Linked DNA regions of Homo sapiens: region 2 is linked to region 1. Evidence: promoter capture Hi-C in 16 types of primary human blood cells and fetal thymus (Javierre and others, 2016). All regions are on one chromosome and are shown on one strand. The core of a region is centred on a gene start or on the middle of the fragment in contact, and the rest is flanking DNA. Distances in the headings are between cores, read along the strand shown. Region 1 holds the start of ATG16L2 (autophagy related 16 like 2). Region 2 overlaps ARHGEF17 (Rho guanine nucleotide exchange factor 17).

Evidence for each region. Contacts are between HindIII fragments. The CHiCAGO score rates a contact against its expected background, and 5 or more counts as called.
Region 2: a contact is called between a fragment that was not itself captured here and the fragment with the promoter of ATG16L2 in region 1, in 1 of 17 cell types (endothelial precursors). The highest score is 6.4, in endothelial precursors.

What each region holds. Positions count from the first base shown.
Region 1 is chr11:72,813,069-72,815,768 of GRCh38, forward strand. It overlaps ATG16L2 (autophagy related 16 like 2), which reads left to right and starts at 1,343. Exons shown (of 18, transcript NM_033388.2): 1 at 1,343-1,495. The coding sequence starts at 1,378. It overlaps LOC107984421 (a long non-coding RNA gene), which reads right to left and starts at 999. Exons shown (of 3, transcript XR_007062771.1): 1 at 1-999. RefSeq lists silencers at 496-585, 986-1,435 and an enhancer at 1,966-2,115. The HindIII fragment of the contact is 2,352 bases long and covers 1-2,305 here.
Region 2 is chr11:73,334,822-73,337,521 of GRCh38, forward strand. All of the region lies in intron 1 of ARHGEF17 (Rho guanine nucleotide exchange factor 17), which reads left to right. It overlaps LOC124902710 (a long non-coding RNA gene), which reads left to right. Exons shown (of 2, transcript XR_007062774.1): 2 at 1-2,700. Among named protein-coding and RNA genes, the nearest start is that of ARHGEF17-AS1, 27 kb to the left of the region's middle. The HindIII fragment of the contact is 1,697 bases long and covers 541-2,237 here.

The DNA of each region.
Region 1 (2,700 bases), core at 93-2,592:
TGCATGATTAGGAGCCAGGCCCCCTAGAGGCGACGATGTTCCAAACATCAGGCTCGGCCTGTGCAAAGGCCATGGGCGTCTAAGACAATGACATGTGGGGGACTGAGCCCAGCTCACTGGAAGCAGAGCAGGCTACACTGACCTGGGGGCGTCTAGGCCTTCACTGCTTTCTACGTCCTCTGACCCATCCCCATCAGAATCTCAACAGACTCGTCACCTCCAGGGCCTGCACTGCTCTCCCATCGTTGCCCAACTTCTCTCGTTCCCTAGGGATGTTCAAGTCTGCCAACACTCAGAGGGCAGGGCCTGCTGGCATGCCCCAGGGTGAGGCTGTGCCCAGCGAGTCCCTCCTTTCGTGTCTCACAGTAGCCTGAGCCTGCAGAGCTGGCTCTCTAGCATCTAGCTAGAGACGGTTTGACCACAGTTCCCTGCGACCCATGATTCACTTTCGAGGGTACCCACAAGAGATGTGTCTGCTCCTCCAGACGCCGCCCAATGGGGTGAAGCGTCTGGCCCTGAGTCAGGATGCTGGGGTGCTGGCCGTCTCAGCTACCCACTCCTTTGCAACCCCAGGCAAGCAAGCTCGTTCTCTCCTCCCGGCCAGGGGCTTTCTAGATGAAATCAGCTGCACCCCTTTACTCTCAGGGACCTAAAATTTCGGCGACCATGTGGAGCCGTAAACCCTTCTGCCTCCTGTCCTCCCAGCCCCGCACCCACCTGGCGTTTTCGTGTCACGGAACCTCTGCACGTGCTCTTCTCGAGGCCTAGAGTCCCTCTCTCCCTCTGGCCAACTCCTATTTCATCCCTCACAGACCCAACTCGAACGCCATCATCCCCGGAAAGCGGGGATTCCTCCCTTCAGTCTCTGCTTCCTTATCTTGCTGTCCTGCTGCGCCGCGCCCTCAGTGTACGCGCAGAGCCCGGGGCTGAGGGCCTCTGGGTCCCTGGCTGGGTGCGCGGCCAGGAGCGCGACGGCCTGGGAAGCACCAGCGGCTCTCGAACTCGGCCCGGGCGCGGCGGGGTTAAGACACCCGGGCCTTGAGGGCCCCGCCTCCGGAGCGCTCCACCCGCGTGGGGGAAGCCTCCCCGGAGGCTCCGACCTCGCTCCTGCTTATGACCCTCGCAGCCACAGGAGCCCCCACTTAGGTGAACATTTCGGACGGGGCCCCGGCGGTTCAGACCCGGAGGCGGCTCCTCCCGGAGGCAGATCCTCCCGGCGTCGGCCTTCGGTCCTCCCCGCCAAAGCCCTCTTGGGACAAGCCGGGGATTCCCCGCCGCCGCCCGCCCCCTGGCGTCACGGAGTCCCCGCGAGGCCCCGCCCCGGCCTGGCGCCGTCCTGGGCGGGAGGAACGCGCCGCTAGGCGGGAGAGCGCGGCCATGGCGGGGCCGGGCGTCCCCGGTGCCCCCGCAGCGCGCTGGAAACGCCACATCGTGCGGCAGCTGCGGCTTCGGGACCGTACGCAAAAGGCGCTTTTCCTGGAGCTGGTGCCGGCCTGTGAGTGCGCCCCGGTGCTGAGAGGATGGCGGCTGAGGGGACGCGGCTACGGGCGCGGGGAGAGGGTTTGGCTGGCTCCTCCGCCTGTGACCCGAGTGCGCTGTGCCTTATGCCTTGAGCCTGTGCGTTACGCCCATCCCGACTGCCAGGACTCCGCCCCTTGCCATCCAGGCTCTGGTTAGAACCTGGACGAGCCCCTCCTGGTCCCCCTGCCCTCGTCGCCCCTCAGGACGGGCTCTGCCTCCCACAAGCTGGGCTTCCGAGACGCAAGTGCGTCCTCGGGTGTTGGTTTTGCAGGGTCTCTTTTGCCTCCCCACCCGGGCAGTCCCCGGGGTAGGGGCTTGATCAGTGCACTTAGTCTCGGTAGCGCAGTGAAAGAACGCGGGACTTGTCCAGAGCAGCCACTTATTGGCCCATCCGGAGAGGGGCGACACTCGGAACCTCTAAGGAGGAGGCTGTGCATCTCAGGCTCTGCCGCTGACAGGCGACGCTGGCACAGGCTTATGGAACACCTCCCTGTCAGCCTACCCAGCCTGAGGGGGCATCAGGGGGCCCCGGGCTGCTGGTGGATGCTGGCTGAGCCCAGCGAAGTCGGACTCTCAGAATTGTTTCTGGGCAGCTGGTCAGGATAGGGTGTGGCATTTCAAGAGGGGATGAACAGGTGTGCCTGTGTGTCGCACCTCTGGCCGCCTGCGATTGTATGTCTGTGGTTGGAAGTCTAACCACAATCCCTGCGGCTCTCTCACTGGGGCTAATCTTGGCCAAACCCCCACAATCAAATCTGCTCTTAGCCAGGAAAATTTCTCTGCAAGCTTCCAGGCTGCTGGTCCTCTACCTTCAGGGTTGCGAGGCCAGCCCCCACCTCCAGCAGCCACACTTCTCCACTGCTCAGACAGACAGTGGAACCGTCCAGTTTGAGGGAGGGGGTCACCGCCCCCCCAACCCCTGCCCCCCGCCCCGACCCAGGGAGCTGTGAGTCTGAGGGACTAGAGAGATCTGGAGGGCTGAAATCAGACTGAAGGGCCAGTCTTGAAACCTTGGGCAGATCACATCGCTAAGCCTCAGTCTTCTTACTTGTTAATTGGGTATAGAGACCTTCTTTAGGTTTGCTGGGTGCTGCAGTACCCTGGGGGCTGAGGTGGGGTTTTCATGAGAACTAGGCCAGGCCCAGGGCCTCAGTCAAGGTGACAGGGCACTGAGTGTGG
Region 2 (2,700 bases), core at 139-2,638, 520 kb after region 1:
CTTCCGTTCCCACGATCCCAGCCCCCCTGCAGGCTGGGGAACTGGGTGGAGGATAGGGAAGGGATCCCTGCTTTCCAGTGCTCTGTGCAGGTCAGGAATCAGAGGCTGAACGGTGGTGGTCCTGGGCCACAGGGCCTGATTCCCTGAGCACTGGTCTGGTGCTGAGCCAGTGTTAGACATTTTGAATGAAATAACTTTTAGAGCTGGGAGAGGAGGGCCCCTGGAGGTCATCTCATTCATAGGTTTTAAGCCAGGGCTGGGACCACAGGCCAGGCCAGTATGTAGGCAGAAGTGTGCATAGGGGAAGGTGGGTGCATTTCCTGGGAGCCCTAAAGCAGGAGTTGCCAGATTTAGCAAGTCCTACCTACCCTAAGGCCTCATGGGATTACCAGTGGGGTCCTTCTCGACTGCCAAGGGCAGGGCAACCTCCCCTGCTCAGACTCAGATGTGGGACCCAGAAGATCTGGGTTCTGGTTTCTCTGCCTGTAAAATGGGGGTGACAGTCCCAGCCTCTTGGGCTGAGAGGATGATTGCATTCAAAGCTTCTGAGCTCCTAAGATGTTTTTCACATCTGTTGGGGGTCTGTCTATCCATCTACTTCTCAAGCCCCACCTCCTGCTTCCCGCTATTATCCATAATGAGAAACTTTTCCTTCCCAGCCTGGAAGGTCCAGCTGTATCTTCTTGAAATTGGGAGGGAGGGGGGCGGATCTCAGAGAAGAAAGAAAGGGAAAAAACCCACATTAAAAAAAAAACCCACCAGTTAAATTCAAACCACATGCACCACAGCCCCTGCCATGTGGGCCTCTGCTGCCACCTGTGGGCGTCTGGTGGAAGTGCAGTTCTTGGGGCTTCAGCTTCCTCACTGGAGCCATAGGCTTAATCCTGAAGCCTGAAATCAGGAAGGAAGGTCAAGCTGTCCATCCTCCACCTCTGAGCATGACCTCACCCCCACCACCTCTGCTGCCAGGAAGCCTGGTGGGGAATTTAGAATCCATCTACACCTTCCCTTCTCCCCCATTTGTTTACAGAGGGGGAAACTGAATCCCAGAGTGGAGAGGAATTTGGCTAAAGTTGCAAAGCAAGACAGTCAATAGATAAGTATTGTACACCTACTGTATGTCAAGAGACCTGGTCTCTGCTCTTATGGATCTTCTGGTTGTGGAAAGCAGGGAGCAGACATTGAGACCGTCCTATTTCCATCTAACTCCCAGCCATCCATGGAAGAGAATACAGCCTCCTACCTTCTCATTCAAGGTGCTCTGGGCTTGGCTTGACTTCTTGTTAATGTGCTCTGTGACCCTGGTGAGGTCACTCAGCTTCTCTGATATGCCAGTTACTTGGGGTCAAATCCCAGCTTTGCCACATCCTGACTTCATAACCTCAGGCAAGTTGCTTTGCTTCCTGGAGCCTTTGTTTCCTCATCTGTAAAATGGCCATAACAGGAATACATAACTCAGAGGACTGGTGTGAGGACTAAATGAGATAATACATGAGAAACAGTGCCTCACTAAACATTAGCCAGCTGTATACATGAGCTCCCACCAAGGATACAGTGAGCACACCTCATTCCCAGAGGTCTAGGAGGGGGCTGGGAGCGCAGTGGGTACGGGGGTCCCTTCTGGGCTAAGAGTGCACCAGCAAGGTTCAGCAGTTAGAAGTCGGGCCTGAGTCCCAGCATAAGGAATGAGGGCTACCACCTCCATCCTCCTTTCAGCCAGCAGGGACAGTTTCTGGAAGGAGTGGTGAGGTTGGAGTCCCAGCTGGACCCCTCTGGGGCAATAGATGAAATCTAGCCTGTGCAGAAATCATCCCCTTCCTTCATTTCTCCTGTCAGCATATGAAGGACCCTGGGTTCACATTCCGTCTCTTCCACTCACTGCCTGTGTGACCATGGCTCCTCCACCTCCCTGATCCTCAGTTTCCTCAGCTAGGCACTTCTCACTGAGAGTCATGCAGTGTGGTCGGATAGTGCTGGGCTGGAATTACCTTGAAGGCATCCTCACTCACAAATTGGTGATTAATGCTGGCATTTGGCTGGACCTCATCTGGCCTGTCAGCTGGCATACCTACACATGGCCCCTGCATGTGGCCTGGGCTTCCCCACAACGTGGAGGCTGGGTTTCAAGAATGAGCAAGCCAAGAGAGCAAGATGGAAGCACATGGCATTTTTATGACCTAGCTTTGGATGTCACATAGTATCATTTCTGCTGTGCTCTGTGGTCAAGGCAGTCACAAAGCTTTACCCAGCTTCAAAGGGAGGGGACCTGGACCTCGTCTTTCTGTGGGAAGAGTCAATACCACATTGTAAGAAGAACATGTGGGCCAGGCGCAGTGGCTCGCGCCTATAATCCCAGCACTTTGGGAGGCCGAGGCAGGAAGATTGCTTGATCCCAGGAGTTCAAGACTAGGCTTAATCTCTAAAAAATATTTTTAAATTAGCTGGGCGTGGTGGTGCGCACCTGTACCCCCACCACTCAGGATGCTGAGACAGGAGGATCGCTTGAGCCCAGGAGTTTGAGGTTGCAGTGAGCTGTCACGCCACTACACTCCAGCCTGGGTGACAGAGTGAGACCCTGTCTCAAGAAAAAAAAAAAAAAAAAAGCATGTGAGATGATAGCTATCTTCAAAACATACAGTCTACCTGAAGATGATTATGAGGAAAACAGCTCATTGTAGCCTTGACATCCCAGAGCTCAAG